6 separate regions of the Homo sapiens genome follow, and all the other regions are linked to region 6. Evidence: promoter capture Hi-C in human tissues and cell types (Jung and others, 2019). All regions are on one chromosome and are shown on one strand. Each heading gives the region's core, a stretch centred on a gene start or on the middle of the fragment in contact. The rest is flanking DNA. Distances are from core to core; before and after follow the strand shown.

Region 1 (2,700 bases), core at 69-2,568, 500 kb before region 6:
GTTTGCCCTTGCCTCTCTAGCTCTTTTAATTGTGGTGTTAGAGTATTGATTTGAGATCTCTCTACCTTTCTGATGTGGGCATTCATTCCTATAAATTTCCCTTTTAGCACTGCTTTAGCTGTGTCCCAGAGATTCTGGTACATTGTCTCTTTGTTCTCATTGGTTTAAAAGAACTTCATTATTTCTGCCTTAATTTCATTATTTACCCAGTAGTCATTCAGAAGCAGGTTGTTCAGTTTCCATGTAATTGTGTGGTTTTGAGTGAGTTTCTTAATTCTGAGTTCTAATTTGATTGCCCTATGTTTTGAGAGATTGTTATGATTTTCGTTCTTTTGCATTTGCTGAGGAGTGTTTTACTTCCAATTATGTGGTTGATTTTAGAATAAGTGCCATGTCGCACTGCAAAGAATGCATATTCTGTTGATTTGGGGTGGTGAAATTTGCAGCTGTGTCTTTGAAATAAGCCCAGTGATTACAGTGGGATCCTGGTGTGTCTTCACTAGTAGTGGCAGCTACAGTGGCCATGATGGTATTGGAGAAAATGCACAGCAAGCATGAGGATTGTAGTCTCTCAATGGACAGGAGAGTAGGGTCTCCAGGTGGTCCAGTTTACTCTTCCCATGAACCATTTTTTGTTACATGTACTTTAAATAGTTCCCCATATACTAGCTGATAACTATTATTCTTTCCTCCTTCCCCAAGGCAAAAGATACTTAACTTTTATTTTATTTTAAAAATTTCCTTAAAATACAAAAATCTTTTATAGATTTAGAGGGTACAAGTGCAGATTTATTACATACATATATTGTGCTGTAGTGAAGTCTGGGGTTTTAGTGTAGCCATCACACACATAGTGAAGGAATTTAACTTTTAAACTATCTCATTTAAATACTTGAAGTTGTGTCATTTAAAATTGCATATAAATGTTTTAAAGTATAAGTAAATGAATTATTTACTCTAACTGAATATTGAATCTTTGCTAGTTGTGTTGTTTTGGGGCATCCACTGGGTGCTGTGATAATTCCAGATAATAAGGCGGTATCCATATAAAAGAATTATACTGTATGTTAAAAGGCACATAGCATAATGGAAAGGTTTATGGATATGGCTGGGCAGGTGTGGTAGCCTTATTATGTGTATCAGTAAGGTTGTTAGTTGTAAGCAGTAACGCAAATGTTAGCTGATTTTGGCAGAAAATCTATTTAAGAAAAGAAGCATGGGCAGCTGAGGGGCCCACAGGAAGGACAGAGGCAGAGCCACCATGTGCTGACAGAGCCTGCATCTGCCAGGGGCACCTTTTCCTTTTTCATATGAAGGCCCTTGACAGACAAGCTGTGGCTTTGGGTGGAGAATCCAGTATAGAGTTACAGAATGTAGAAACTGTCTCGTCACACCAGAGGGCTTGTTTCGGGAAGCCATGCAGTGCTCACACCACTGGCGTTCCCACTACTACTGCCAGAGAGTGCATCCTCCACTGTTGCCAGAGAGTGCATCCTCCATATCTCTGTGGCTCCACGGTGGGGTGTGTTGGGCTTAACTGCAAACAAGGTGGGGAAAGCAAGTTCCTGATGTATTCAACTTTAATAATGAGCAGAGCCTGAGTCTCCCACTGAGACTCATAAGGTGAGCAATTCCCCAAACACTGAAAGGGGAGTCAGACACTGAACAGCTAAGAATTGCCACACCATTTATTTGTTGTTGTTCTTTCCTGTCCTTTTTGTTATTGTTGTTGTTTTACCTTTATTTCACCTTTACGCTGGCATTCTGAAACATAGACAAATGAGTTAGTGCCTAAATGCAATGGAAGACTACAGGAAATCAGCACAAAGCTAAAAAAGAACCAACCCATGTATAAGTGAGGACCTTAACTGAAAAAGCAAATTATTTTTGCAATAATTGTATTGTCCTTCAGGCTACTGATATTTGTTCCATTCACATGGATGACTGTGTGACATGAAGAGATGTGATTGTTGAGGTGTTAGTTTTCAATAAAAGCACTATGTATGATTAAGCTTAACTCAATTTTTTATTTATTAAAATTTGACCACATTATTACTATTGTTATTATCTATATCTACAATGTATAATGAATAGATGTAGCACTCTTCATCCTTGAAAATGTTGTCCTTTGATTTCTCACTTTTTCTTGCTTTTTGTTTTCTTCTTTTCCATCATTTTCTTCCTGCTGCCATAGCAACATGTATCTCAACCGTAAGCCATCTGAACTTGATCCTGGTTAAATTTAATTTAATTCAGTAAGTATTTATTATTTGCCTAATATGTACAACACATCACAGATGTTCTAAAAAATTCAGCAAAAAGTTCTTTCCTTGTCTCACTTCTCACAGCTTATAACATATCAAACTGCACCAGGTAGATAGTTGATAGAAATGGTGAGATGAATGGACAGATGTAGGCAAGATACACATAAAACAAATGAATCAAAGTTATCCATCAAATCTCAGTACAACAATCCTCTTTGTCACAACTTCTTTGTTATTGTTGCTGTTACTCTTTTATGTCTAAAACAACCTTATTTTAGTATACAATTCAATATCAAACATTAAATCCCTTTAGAAATTCACTATATAGAAGATAAAACCAATGATTTATAAATAAAAGAAAGCATATTTCATACAAGAAAAAATTTTAGAAATGCCTTTTATTTTTAACTCTTTTTTCTAATATTCAGCAAATATA
Region 2 (2,895 bases), core at 52-2,551, 320 kb before region 6:
TATGTCCCAGAAACATTTTTTGAAAATACTCTTCTTTCCCATTGAATCATATTGACATCCATATGAAAAATCAATTACCATAAATGTTAAGTTTATTTATGGACTCCCAATTCTATTACATTAATGTATAAGTCTATCCTTATGCAACTAACACACTGTCTTGATTACTGTAACTTTTTAATACATTTTGAAATTAGGAACTTTCAAAACTCTATTCTTTTTCAAGATGGTTTTGGCTATTCTGGGTCCCTTGCATTTTCATATGGAATTTACAAACAACTTGTCAATTTCTACATAAAAAGAAAGACAGCTGGGATTTGATAAAGATTACATTGCATCTGTAGGTCACTTTGGGGAATATTGCCATCCTGACACTATTCAGTAATCCAACCCATATAGATGGGTTATCTGTCCATTTACTTAGGTCTTTAATGTCTTTCAACACTGCTTTACAGTTTTTTGTGTGCAAGTATTGCAATTCTTTTGTTAAATTTAAGTATCTTGTTCTTTAATGGTATTGTAAATGAAATTTCTTATTTTCATTTTTGGATTCCTCACTATTACTACACAGAAATACAGTTGATTTTTGTATATTAATCTTGTATTCTTCAACTTTGCTGAAGTTATTTATTTCAATCATTTTCTTTGGTATTTGTTGGCAAGTTACTTACATAAGACAATACCATCTGTGAATAGAAATAATTTTATTTCTTCCTTTCTGATCCATCCAGATTAGAATGCCTCTATTTCTCTTTCTTAAATAATTTCTCTGACTAGAATGTTCAGAACAATGTTGAAGAAGTGATGAGTAGAAATTCTTGTCTTGTTCCTAATCTTAGAAAGCTTTCAGTCTTTTATCATTAAGTATGTTAGCTGTGGGGTTTTCATACATGCTTTATATTATGTTAAGAAAGTTCCTGTATACTCCAAGTTTATTGACTGTTTTTACTATGAATGGATATTGAATATTGTCTAATGTTTTTTCTGCATCTATTGAGATGATTTTTTTGTTCTTTATTCTATTAATATTGTGTGTTATATTTATTGATTTTCACATGTTGACCCAACCCTCCATTCCTGGGATCAGTTTCACTTGGTGATGGTGTATTATCGTTTTTATATATTGTTATATGTGGTTTGCTAGTATTTGGTTGAGGGTTTTTGCATCTATGTTCATAAGGGATATTGGTCTGTAGTTTTCTTGGGATGTCTTTGTCAGGTTTTGATATCATGGTAATATTGGCCTCATATAATTAATGGAAAAATGTTCCCTCTTCCTCTTTTATTTGGAAGAGTTTGTGAAAGTTTGATGTTAATTTCCTTTAAACATTTGGTAGAATTAACATTTGGTGAAGGCATCTGGGCCTGGGCATTTCCTTGTGGGAAGGTTTTTGATTACTATTCAATCTCAATCTCTTTAATTACTATAGTTTTTTTTTCAAAGTTTCTATTTCTCTTAGTCCCAGCAGTTTGTGTTCTAGGAATTTGTCAATTTTATCAATGTTAATTAATTTATTTGCATACAATTATTTCCGTATAACCCTTTTTATTGCTGTAAGGTCAGTATGTCCCTGTTTTGTTACTAATTTTTATTAATTTGAGTTGTATCTCTTTTTTCTAAGCCAGTCTAGCCAAAGGCTTGTCAATTTTGTTAATCTTTCCAAAGCACTAACTTTTGGTTTTGTTGATTTTTATATTGATTTTCTATTTCATTTATTGCTGCTTTGTTGCTTCTACTTGTTTTAAGTTTAGTTTACTTTTCTCTTTCCAGTTTCTTAAGGTGGTAGATTAGGTTGTTAATTTGAGATCTTATAGTATAGGCATTTAAAGTTATGCATGTCCCTCTACTCACTGCTTTAGCTGCGTCCCATAAGTTTTGGTATGTTTTGTTTTCATGGTAAAATGTTAAATCTGTGTTCATGGGCATATAAGGTATAAAGATGTAATTTGTATGATAATATATCACAAATGGGGGGAGGGAATGGAGCTTTATGGAAGCAAGTGTTTGTATGCTATTGAAATTAAGATTTATAGTGTGGTTTCCTCAGCTGTCTTTTATATACAATATTTATAATTTCATATATATTTACTTTTAGCAGTGCTCTTTATTTACCTTTAGCAGTGCTCTTTATTCAAATAGATATAGGTTGCTGTTGAGTGTCCTTTCACTTCAGCTTGAAGTAATCCCATTAGCATTTCTTGTAGGTTAGGTCTGCTAGTAACAAATTCTCTGTCTCTGTTTTGAAAAGTCTCAATGTCTTCTTCTTTTTTGGCATATAGTCTTGTTGTTTGTAGAATTATTGGTTGACAGACTTTTTCTTTTATCACTTCGAATATGCCTATTCTGGCCTCCATGGTTTCTAATGAGAAATCAACTGTTAATCTACATGGTAGGTTGTTTCTCTTGCTTTAAGGTTCTCTTTGTTTTTAGTTTTCAACAGATAATGATATGTTTAGGTGTGGATCTCTTTTCTTATCCTACTTAAGAGTTTATTAAGTGTCTTTGGTTTATTGATTAATGTTATTCATTAAATTTGGGAAGTTTTGTCTACTGTTTCTTTTTTTTTTTTTTTTTGAGACAGAGTCTCACTCTGTCACCCAGGCTGGAGTGCAGTGGCACGATCTTGGCTCACTGCAACCTCCGCCTCCCAGGTTCAAGCAATTCCCCTGCCTCAGCCTCCCGAGTAGCTGGGACTACAGGCACGTGCCACCATGCCCAGATAATTTTTGTGTGTTTTTAGTAGAGACGGGGTTTCACTGTGTTAGCCAGGATGGTCTCGATCTCCTGGCCTCGTGATCCACCCACCTCAGCCTCCTGAAGTGCTGGGATTACAGGCATGAACCACTAAACCTGGCCTGTCCTCTGTTTCTTTACCAAATGTTCTGTCCCTTCCC
Region 3 (2,897 bases), core at 286-2,785, 360 kb before region 6:
GGTGAGTCTTGTGGTGGCATTCTTAGAACTCACCCCATCTCTACTAAAAATACAAAAATTAGCCGGGCATGGTGGCAGGCACCTATAGTCCAGCTACTCAGGAGGCTGAGGCAGGAGAATCGCTTGAACTCAGGAGGTGGAGATTGCAGTTAGCTGGGATCGTCCCACTGCACTCCACCCTGGGTGACAGAGCAAGACTCCGTCTCAGAAAAAAAAAAAAAAAAATCACTCGTAAGGCTGGTTTATTGGTTTAAAAATAATTAATTTCCTTAGCATTTACTTGTCTAGAAAAGATTTTATTTCTTTTTGCTGACAAAGCTTAGTTTGATGGAATATAAAATTCATGGTTGGAATTACTTTAAGAATGCCAAAAATAGGCCCCCAATCTCTCTCAGCTTATAAGGTTTCTGCTGAGAAGTCCAGTGTTAGCCTAATAGAGTTTCCCTTTAAAAGTCATCTGACCATTTTTTTCTAGCTGTCTTTAAGATTTTTTTTTTTACCATTGACCTCAGACAGTCTGGTGACCATATGCCTTTGTTATGCTCATTTTGTAAAGTATCTAGCAAGTGTTCTCTGGATTTCTTGTATCTGGATGTTTATCTCTCTGGCAAAAATACGGATATTTTCTAGAACTATTCCTTCAAATATGTTTCCATGTTGTTTACTTTTTCTCCTTGTCTCTCAGGAATGTCAATAATTCATACATTTGGCTACTTTACATAATTTTATATTACTTGAAGATTTTGCTCATTTTTAAATTTCTGTCTGTGTTAGTTTAAAAGATCAATCTTAAACTTTGAAATTATTTATTCTGCTTGGTCCAGTTTATTGATAAAGCTTTCAGTTGTATTTTGAAATTCCTTAAGTAAGTTTTTCAATTCCAGAAGCTCTGACTAATTTCTTTTTAAGATGTTTATCCCTTTTTTCATTTTCTGGATTGCTTTAGAAGTTTCTTTGTGTTGATTTTCAACCTCGTCTTGGATCTTGTTGTGCTTCCTTGCAATCCATGCTTTGAATTCTTTATCTGTCATTTCTGAGTTTCTATTTTGGTTATGGATTATCATTGGCTAGTTAGTGTGATCCTTTGGTGGTATCACAACATTCAGATTTTTTGTGATGCTGGAATTCTTACACTGATTTCTTGTCATCTGGAGATGCTGGCACTTCTAATTTTTGTAATTATTTTCATATGGACAAGATGTTTTTTCTTTCTTTTTTCCCATATAATATTTTTTTCTTTCTTTTTCCCCACTTCCCTAGGGGGTGTAACTGGAGAGAATTCTGGATACGGTCTTTTGGCTTTGTTTCTATAGCCCTATAAACCTCTATTAGCAAGTTTTATATTGGGCTATGCAGTTTGACCTAGAGGTCATAGATTATTCTTATAGGTAAGAGTTGGCTGCAGCCAATAGGGTTGGGTACATACTTGATCCTTCTTTATTGGAAGAAGTTCTCTGTTACCTCAGGCAATGGGCTGATCCTGGAGTGCACAGTGGTCTGAGCACCCTGCTCAGCCCAGGGGTGGGGGCAAGATGGATGGGGCTGAACCAGACAGAACCATCTATAGGTCCCCGATGGAAGTCACAAGCACTAGTACTGAAGGAGAATCCAGCGGGTGGCCACCAAGCACCCAGAGATGTGCCTAGGCATAAAGCTAGGAAAACTCCTTGGCCCCAATTGCTCTGCATGGGAAGTGAAGGTAGCCTAAACTCAAAATCCAGGAGAATGGGTACGTCAGATGTGTGGAGATTTTCCTGGGCATGAAGTGTAGGGGGCTCCTACACTACACCAAATTCTCTGCACAGGATGAGAGGGGTGCCTCAGGCTGTTAACTGGATAAACAGATGCCCTGAATGCCTGAAGATCTGCCTTGGTGTGGGGTGAGGATGGTTGTGCCTCAACACACTCTTTTTATCAGCTAGACACTGCCATGGAGGTTGTTTGTCCATATTCTTCTCCCTAAGATCTAGGATGTCCTTCATGATTCCAGCGGATTACTATTTTTTTTTTCTTGAATGAAAGCTCACAGAGTTGATCTTGATGCACTATTTTTCTGTTTCCAGGTGGCTGAAAAATGCTAAAAGCCTCTAATCCACCATCTTTGAAAAAAATGAAAAGTGAATCTTGAGTGATGTGGAGAAAGATGCAGCTTGGCTGAGAAGCGTAAGTCTGGGAGGTGGGTGAGGAAAGACAGGAATAGAGGGAATTTGTACATATATCTGCATAGAGGTAATAATTAGTAAAAAAATGTTAAAAATGAACATATTTGATCGACTAGAAAAGAAACAGTGTCGTGCAGAGGTTAAACATAAGGACTATAAACTGAAGTTGCAGGAGTTGGAATACTGATTCTGCCACTTACTGCCTTTGTAACTTTGGAAAACTTTCCTAAATTATCAAATTATCTATGCCTCAAATTCCTCAACTGTAAGTTCTAGCTAACAATACTTTTTGTAGATTACTGAGTCAATGCATGTGAAGTACTCAGCATGGTGCCTAGCACATACTAAACATATTGTAAAAAATGCTTACTGTGATGGTTAATAATGAGTGTCAACTTGATTGGATTGAAGGATGCAAAGTATTGATCCTGGGTGTGTCTTCGAGGGTGTTGCCAAAGGAGATTAACATTTGAGTCAGTGGACTGGGAAAGGTACACCCACCCTTAACTTGGGTGGGTACCATCAAATCAGCTACCTCCATGGCCAAAATATAAAGCAGGCAGAAAAATGTGAAAAGGCTAGACTGGCTTAGCCTCCCAGCCTACATCTTTCTCCTGTGCTGGATGCTTCCTGTACTTGAACATTGGACTCCAGGTTCTTCAGCTTTGGGACTCAGACTGGCTTCCTTGCTCCTCAGCTTGCAGATGACCTATTGTAGGACCTTGTGATCATGTG
Region 4 (2,700 bases), core at 48-2,547, 340 kb before region 6:
TGCATGTTCTCACTTATAAGTGAGAGCTAAACATTTGGTATACATGATCACAAAGCCGGGAACAATAAATACTGGGACTCCAAAAAGTGAGATGGCAGGAGTGGGGGCAAGGGTTGAAAAACTACCTACCAGGTACTATGTTCACTAATTGGGCAGCAGGATCTTTAGAAGCCCAAATGTCAGCATCACACAACATATCCATGTAACAAACCTGCACATGCATCCCTTGAATCAAAATAAAATAAATGAAATAGGGCCAGGCATGGTGGCTCACGCCTGTAATCCCAGCACTTTGGGAGGCCGAGGCAGGCGGATCACTAGGTCAGGAGATCGAGACCATCCTGGTTAACACGGTGAAACCCCATCTCTACTAAAAATACAAAAAATTTGCTGGGCGTGGTGGTGGGCACCTGTAGTCCCAGCTACTCTGGAGGCTGAGGCAGGAGAATGGTGTGAACCTGGGAGGCAGAGCTTGCAGTGAGCCGAGATCGCACCACTGCACTCCAGCCTGGGTGACGAAGAGAGACTCCATCTCAAAACCAAACCAAACCAAACCAAACAAAAATAAATAAAAAACAAATAAATAAAATAAAAAATATATTTTTAAGTCAACAACAACAAAAAAAGGTTTTTGGGATAGCATCTCACCATGTTCCCTGGCTGCTCTCGAACTCCTAGGCTCAAGTGATCCTCCTGCTTCAGCCTCCCACATTGCTGGGATTACAGGTGTGCACCACTGTGCCCAGGTAGAAAAAATATTTTTTAAAAAAAGAAAACGAAATAAAGATAGTTTTTAGACAAAAAAAGGACAGAACTCATGCCAGTAAACCTTTACAGAAATAAAAAACTCACAAAGATATTTTTTCAAAAAAATTGATTTCAAAAAAAATGATCCAAGATGGAAACATGGAGGTGAAGAGAAGAATGAAGGGTATTAGAGGGAGGAAATTTAAGTTAAAATTATTTCTTCAAAGCATTTATAAAAATGCCTTGTGGGAATTGCTATATGTATAGAATTAAATACTAGACAAAGATAATATAAAGGATAGGAAGGATACTGCAATAAACATACAAATGCAGATATTTGTTTAAAAATAAACTTACTTATTTTTCTTTGGGTAGATACCCAGTAGTGAGATCGCTGAATCAAATAGTAGTTCTATTTTAAATTCTTTGAAAAATATCCACGCTGTTTTCCACAGAGGTTGTACTAATTTACATTCCCGCCAACAGTCTGTAAGCATTCCTTTTCTCTGCATCTTTGCCAACATCTGCTTTTTTTTATTTGTATTTTTCATAATAGCCATTCTAACTGGTGTAAGATGATATCTCATTGTGGTTTTAATTTGCATTTCTCTGATGATTAGTGATGTTGAGCATTTTTTCATATGTTTTTTGTGACTTCTTTCAAAAAAATGTCTGCTCATGTTTTTTTGCCCACTTTTTAACAGGGTTATTTGGTATTTGTTGTTGTTGAGTTGTCTGACTTCCTTATAAATTCTGAATATTAGTCCCCTATTGGTTGCATAGTTTGCAAATATTTTCTTTCATTCTCCATGTTGTCTGTTCAGTCTATTGATTATTTCTTTTGCTGTGCAGAACCCTTTAGTTTAATTAAGTCCCATTTGTCTATCTTTGGTTTTGACGCTTGTGCTTTTGAGTTCTTAGTCATGAATTCTTTGTCTATACCAATGTCCAGAAAAGTTCTCCCTAGGTTTTCTTCTACTATTTTCCTAGTTCCAAGTCTTACATCTAAGTGTTTAATTCATCTTGCATTGTCTTTTGTATATGGTGAGAGAAAGGGGTTCAGTTTTATTCTTCTGTATATGGCAATCTAATTTTCCCAGCACAGTTTATTGAAAAGGGTATCCTTTCCCCAGTGTATGTTTTTGTTGACCTTGTCAAAGGTCAGTTGGCTGTAGATATGTGGCTTTATTTCAGATTCTCTGTTCCGTTCCCTTGATCTATGTATCTATTTTTGTACTAGTACCATTCTGTTTTGGTTACTATAGTGTTGTAGTGTAATTTGAAGTTGGGTAATATGATGCCTCCAGCTTGTTCTTTTTGCTTAGGATTGCTTTGGCTATTCAGGCTCTTTATTGGTTCCATATTAATTTTATGATTTTTTTCTAATTCTGTGAAAAATAGTAAAGATATAAAATCAACCTAAGTGTTCATCAACAGATGATTAGATTAATAAAATATGCAATAGTATTGCATATACAAATGCAGTACTATTCAGCCATAAAAAGAATCAATTCATGTCTTTTGCAGCAATATGGATGGAATTGGAGGCTGCTATCTTAAGTGAGACAACTCATAAACAGAAAGTCAAATACCATGTGTTCTCATTTATAAGTCAAATACCAGATGTTCTCTTATAAGTAGTCGTCATAGGTTCAGTCATTGGGGATTGTCCCCTGCCCTTCCTTCACTATAAGGTAGCATCTATGTTTGGGGTTCATGTGCCAACATGGCATCAAGGGAGGCGTGTAGTCCTTAGCCATCTGTCTACACTGGTATTCACTGCCATGAATCGTCATTGTTCCACCTGGCTATTGGCATTGCTCCTCCATGCTGACATCTTTTAAGAGGTCACACTCTCAGTGATTTTTAGACATACTGTCTATACCTCAGCCTCAGGTCTGCCAGTGTGCTCTTAGCAAGGTTTGGTGCCTCTTATTTATTTATTTATTTATT
Region 5 (2,713 bases), core at 104-2,603, 270 kb after region 6:
ATAGGCAGCTTGTGTTAACCAGCTCAATTAGACCCTCTACCTTGTCGCAGGGACAGAGGGCTTTCTGTATCTCGGGTTCTTGCCTTGGTCTACCAGAAGAATCGGGTCACACCTGGGCTTGGAGAATGAGTGCAGGTTTTATTGAATGGAGGTAGCACTCAGCAAATGGGGGAAGCCAGAAGTGGATGGAGTGGGAAGGTTTTCCCCTGAAGTTGGGCCACTCAGCGGCCCAGGCGTCTTCCAACCCCCTCAGCTAAACTCCACGTTCCACCGGGAGAATGGCCTGCTGGCATGCTGGTGTTCTCGACATCCTCTGGACATCCAGCCGCTTGTGTGTTCTTCCGCTGATGTGTTTCTCTCCACGTCCAGCCGCTTGTGTGTTCCTGCTAGGGTCTTGGGGTTTTTATAGGCACAGGATGTGGGCATGGCAGGCCAGGGTGGTCTTGGAAAATGCAACATTTGGGCCAAAGGCAGGAGTGCCTGTCCTCACCTAGGTCCGTGGGCACAGGCCTGAGGGTGAAGCCCTAGCCCAGGACCCGCTTTTCTCTACCCAGCACGTCCCTGTCCCCCTCCCATAACAGCTTCATGCCTTAGAGAAACCATTTCAAATTTTGGACAGAATGCAACGGCTTAAAAAGGAAAGCTTAGTAGAGGGAGAATGCAGGAGGGGCAAGAAGTTGCAGGTCTACGTGACTTGCACCAATGACTTGTCCTGAGTCATTGCCCCCTCTGGTGAATGGGCTGGGGCATCCTGGCGTAATCAGGTTGTAAATTAACTGCAACCTTGAGGTATTCTCCTGGTGGGGAAAAATTCTATAGGTGCTTGGATTGTTTTAAGATTCAGTCCCTGGAACTTCTAAGCAAGTGTATAATTAGATAAGGAGGACATTGTACCTGGTGGAAAGAAAGAGAGCAAAGGTCATATTTCATTTGTAAGAAATTAAACATAAAGTAAATAAGGAGGAAAAAGAAAAAGTGTGATGGTTAATATTAGGTGTCAACTTGACTGGATTAGGGATGCCTAAATGGCTGGTAAAGTGTTGTTCATGGGTGTGTCTGTAAGGGTGTTGCCAAGGGAGACTGACATGAGTCAGTGGACTGGAAGAGAAAGACCCACCCTCAGTGTGGGTGGGCACCATCCAATTGGCTGCCAGCGCAGCTGGAACAAAGCAGGCAGATGAAGAGGGATAATTACTTTGCTGCTGAGTCTTTCCACTCTCTCTCTTCTCCTGCTGGACACTTGGCTTCCTCTCCTCCCACCCTCGGACTTCACACTCCATGTTCTTCAGTCTTTGAACTCTGGAACTTGCAGCAAAAGACTTGTGGGGCTCCCAGGCCTTCAGACTGAAGGCTGCGCTGTCAGTTTTCCTCGTGCTGAAGCTTTTGGAGTTGGACTGAGTCACTGCCAGTTTCTGTCTTTCACCAGCTTGCAGATACCCTATTGTGGGACTTTGCCTTGTAATCATGGGAGTCAATTCTCCCTAATAAACTTTCTTTTATATATACACATATCCTATCAATTCTGTCCCTGTAGAAAACCCCAACTAATACAGAAAGGAACAAAAAAATATTTAAAAATAGGGTACTCATTACAACTCCCCACTGCCAAATTCCATTCCATTTCTGTGGAACATGGGCGATGTGTTCATTCTGCCTACTTCCTGCTGAATGAGGATGTAGTTAAAGGACATTGTCATGGAACTGATCTACTGGAACTGGAAATATTCTCACATACCTGGGCTGACAGATGAAAACTGTTGGAGATTTGCAAGTCTCTGGGAGAGTTTACCTTGCATTTCCATGCAGAATGTACAACAGCAGTAGAATCTGCAGCAAAGAAGTATGCCTATTCCCGCAATTATGATCAAGGTCACAAGTAACTTTTCCCACCAGGATGGTTCTGACCCAAACCAGGGCACAAACCATTGATCTGGTGACAATGTGGGATCAGACATAGCTTTAATTTGTTTATGCATATCTTGCAGGGCTAATGAGATTTCCTGAGTTGTCTAGGATGTATACATACACTACTCAGGTTTTCAATAGTTTTGGGGTAAGAGGTGGCCTTTAGTTACATGAAAAGTTTTAATGGTAATTTCTGAGACTTGGAGCACCTGTCACCCAAGCAGTGTACACTGTACCCAATGTGTAGTCTTTTATACCTAACCCCACTCCCACACTTCCCCGAGTCCCCAAAGTCCATTATATCATTCTTATGCCTTTTCATCCTCATAGCTTAGCTCCCATTTATAAATGAGAACATAGGATATTTGGTTTTCCATTTCTGAGTTACTTTGCTTAGAATAATGGTCTCCAACTCCATCCAGGTTGCTGCAAATGCTATTATTTTGTTCCTTTTTATGGCTGAGTAGTATTTCATGGTTATATATATATATCGCATTTTCTTTATCCACTCATTGGTAGATGGGGATTTAGGCTGGTTCCATATTTTGGCAATTGAGATTTGTGCTTCTATAAACTTGCATGTGCAAGTGTCTTTTTTCATATAAGGACTTATTTTCCTCTGGGTAGATACCTAGTCATGGGATTGCTGGATTTAATGGTAGTTCTACTTTAGTTCTTTAAGGAATCTCCATAGTGTTTTCCATTGTGGTTCTACTAGTTCACATTTTCACCAGCAGTGTAGAAGTGTTCCCTTTTCACCACATCCACACCAACATCTGTTATTTTTTTATTTTTTAATTATGGTCAT
Region 6 (2,700 bases), core at 70-2,569:
ACCAAAGCAAGAATGGCTATTATTTAAGACTGGCCTGAACAGAGTAGAAGGTTTGCGGTAGGGAAGACTGGCCTGAACAGAGTAGAAGGTTTGGGGTAGGGAACACAGGAGTGTGATGGGGGAAATCGGGACCTCGCTTGTCAATCATAAACACTGGTGCAGGCGAGGGCACCCGAAGCCTCACGTGCGGCGGAAATAGGCAGTTGTACGGATTTCCTCAGTAAAACATTGAAAGCAAAAACTGCGATCACACCCAGCCCTTTCCTCTATGCCCTGCCCAATTTCTCCCAAGTCCCCAAAAGGAAGAGAGCAGTAGGTCAAACTTGTTTATTCATTCATTCCATGAACATTTCTCTCTCCTAAGGGGTCTTTGTTTCCTGCAAGGGAGTGAGTCTTGCCTTTCCCGCAGCACCAATTTTTCCACAGCGAAGGGTCCCCCTAGTTGCCTGGCTCAGCAAGACCACACACATCACCATTGAAGGGAAAGGACCAGGCTCCGCAGAAAGCGCCTCAGACCCGCATTCAGACAAGGCAGTGCCTTTGCCCGGGGCGGCGGTGGTGGGATAAGAGAAGCAACGTGTCAGCGAGTGGAAAACTGGGGACTCCCAAACGGCCTTAGGAGCGCCGGGCTCCCCACTGGGGCCTCTTTCTAAGGGGCCTGGCTTGCTGGCCAAAAGGTAGCCTTTCCGCTAGTCCAGTTTCCATGGCCGTACAAAAAGCACATCCCGAAAAGGAGCTGCTCGCCGACCTCCGGCTAGTTTTGAAGAGTGAAAGCAGGTCTAGGTGGAAAAGAAAGAACAACAAACCATCAGGACAACCTTGCTGCCTTGGCCCAAGTTTGTGAGACAAAACTTCACTGTAAATCACAAAAATAACAATCAAGAAAGTGTTTGGTGGGAGGGTGGTGTCCCCCAAAAGCCTTGATGTGTCCCCCGAAAGCAAGGACTGCTGGTGACTCGGACAGGAGAAAATTTTAAGGAGATGGCTCCTCAAAGACAACCGCATGTGTTGAGCACCAACCCTGGCTGAAAAGGATAGGCAGGGGAAGCATCTGGGGGTCTTTCCAGACTATCTAGAAAGCTGGAGAGAGTGGGCTTGGGCTTTGCGGGAGAGTCTTGGGGGCGCCTGCGGGCGGGGCTGGGCCGCGGGCGCGGGCCGCAGAGGGAGGGGCAGGGAGGCGGGGCCTAGGTCTGGGCGGGTCGGAGGCGGGGCCCAGGTGGTGTTGATACACAAAGAGAAGGCGCCCGGGCGGCCGCGGTCCCGCCCACTGACGCGTCCCCGGGGTGCCGCTATAACCCGCCGCTCGCAGGGCTGCTCCACAGCCGCGCGACGCCGCCGCCTTAGAACGCCTTTCCAGTACTGCTAGCAGCAGCCCGACCACGCGTTACCGCACGCTCGCGCCTTTCCCTTGACACGGCGGACGCCGGAGGATTGGGGCGGCAATTTGTCTTTTCCTTTTTTATTAAAATTATTTTTCCTGCCTGTTGTTGGATTTGGGGAAATTTTTTGTTTGTTTTTTATGATTTGTATTTGACTGAGAGAAACCCACTGAAGACGTCTGCGTGAGAATAGAGACCACCGAGGTAACGCGTGCGGGGGGGCGTCTGTGGGAAGGGCGCGGGGCCCGGGCGAGAGTGGGGGAGGGGCTTCCGGGAGGGGCCGCGCGGGAAGGCGGCCGCGGGGTCCGTTTCCTTTCGAGGCGGGCGTTGTCGGTTGGGCTGGCCAGCCTTCCACCCTGGCCCGCCGCGCGGGTGTCGCGCCCGCGACGTGGGTAGGAGAGCGGGCGCTGGGCGGGGGCCGCGTGCCTGCACGGTGCGGAGCCGCATCTTCCCATTAGGGGGAGGGGAGCTAGCCCGGCCAGCGGCTCTGCTGCGGCAAGTCTTGTGACTGATTTGCATTTAATAAAAAAAAAAAATTAAGTCCAGGGAGCCAGGAATCTGGGGGCGGCGGAGGTGGGCTTGGGCATGTATTACAGGAGAGGCCAAGATTGGGGAAGACGAGTTGGGAACATTTGACAATCGACGATCGATATTGCATCAGTTTTCTTTCCGGACATAGGAGGGGCTGGGCGGGCGTAGCACTCGCGGGCCAGCTGCCTGTGGACGGGTGTGCTTGAGGGCACTGGCGCGCGTGTGTAAACAAACCCCCAGCTCCCGGGGCCCGGGCGTTCGCCCCCCTCGAGAGAGGAGTAGTGTCGGCCCTTTCCGCCTCCTGGGGAAGGCTGTCTGCGGCAGAGGCATTTCTCCGTGTGGGGACTCCGGGCAGTAAAGGACAGATTACGCAGCATTGCTGTTCCAAATGCTAGAAACGGAAAGCCGTGCGCCTAGGTTGCATGCACACGAGCCAGGGTCGGGGCTGGATGTGTGCCCTGAGTGCCTGTGCAAGTTTGGAGCGACTGGGAAAAAGCAAAACAGAACCCCCCCTCGCCCCCTCCACTCCGACGAGGGACAATAGAGAGGGTGAAATACTGAAATCTGCCGGAGTAGGGGGCCTCGACGGCCGCAACACAGCGGTGGCATCATCTTTGTTCTCCCCGCGGCTCCGCCGTCTGTACTTTTCCGCCCCTCGGCGCGCCCCCGCCCCTCGCGCGCGGCTGGTACTTTTCCACTCGCCTGGCCTGGGATGAATCAGCCGCGCTGCGCCTCCGGGCGGCGTCACGTGACCGCGGCGGGCTGGCGCTGCGGTCCTGACGCGCCGCCT

What was found. The method cuts DNA at HindIII sites, captures the fragments that hold promoters and counts their contacts. A contact is called where the count stands out against the background at its distance.
Region 1: a fragment that was not itself captured here is called in contact with the fragment with the promoter of SLC38A2 in region 6 in 2 of the 25 tissues and cell types used here (IMR-90 fibroblasts and mesenchymal stem cells).
Region 2: a contact is called between a fragment that was not itself captured here and the fragment with the promoter of SLC38A2 in region 6, in 1 of the 25 tissues and cell types used here (IMR-90 fibroblasts).
Region 3: a contact is called between a fragment that was not itself captured here and the fragment with the promoter of SLC38A2 in region 6, in 1 of the 25 tissues and cell types used here (mesenchymal stem cells).
Region 4: a fragment that was not itself captured here is called in contact with the fragment with the promoter of SLC38A2 in region 6 in 1 of the 25 tissues and cell types used here (lymphoblastoid cells).
Region 5: a contact is called between a fragment that was not itself captured here and the fragment with the promoter of SLC38A2 in region 6, in 1 of the 25 tissues and cell types used here (hippocampus).

Annotation. Positions count from the first base shown.
Region 1 is chr12:46,876,107-46,878,806 of GRCh38, reverse strand. No RefSeq gene overlaps it. Among named protein-coding and RNA genes, the nearest start is that of SLC38A4, 51 kb to the right of the region's middle. The HindIII fragment of the contact is 5,424 bases long and covers 1-2,700 here.
Region 2 is chr12:46,689,317-46,692,211 of GRCh38, reverse strand. No RefSeq gene overlaps it. Among named protein-coding and RNA genes, the nearest start is that of SLC38A4, 140 kb to the left of the region's middle. The HindIII fragment of the contact is 3,931 bases long and covers 1-2,895 here.
Region 3 is chr12:46,733,883-46,736,779 of GRCh38, reverse strand. No RefSeq gene overlaps it. Among named protein-coding and RNA genes, the nearest start is that of SLC38A4, 91 kb to the left of the region's middle. The HindIII fragment of the contact is 3,722 bases long and covers 1-2,897 here.
Region 4 is chr12:46,710,542-46,713,241 of GRCh38, reverse strand. No RefSeq gene overlaps it. Among named protein-coding and RNA genes, the nearest start is that of SLC38A4, 110 kb to the left of the region's middle. The HindIII fragment of the contact is 9,894 bases long and covers 1-2,700 here.
Region 5 is chr12:46,099,696-46,102,408 of GRCh38, reverse strand. No RefSeq gene overlaps it. Among named protein-coding and RNA genes, the nearest start is that of SCAF11, 110 kb to the right of the region's middle. The HindIII fragment of the contact is 3,710 bases long and covers 1-2,713 here.
Region 6 is chr12:46,371,392-46,374,091 of GRCh38, reverse strand. It overlaps SLC38A2 (solute carrier family 38 member 2), which reads left to right and starts at 1,319. Exons shown (of 16, transcript NM_018976.5): 1 at 1,319-1,583. It overlaps SLC38A2-AS1 (SLC38A2 antisense RNA 1), which reads right to left and starts at 1,309. Exons shown (of 2, transcript NR_187299.1): 1 at 1,230-1,309; 2 at 314-779. RefSeq lists enhancers at 760-819, 1,500-1,579, 1,437-2,140, 1,830-2,159, 2,240-2,389 and silencers at 1,070-1,409, 1,610-1,809. The HindIII fragment of the contact is 23,415 bases long and covers 1-2,700 here.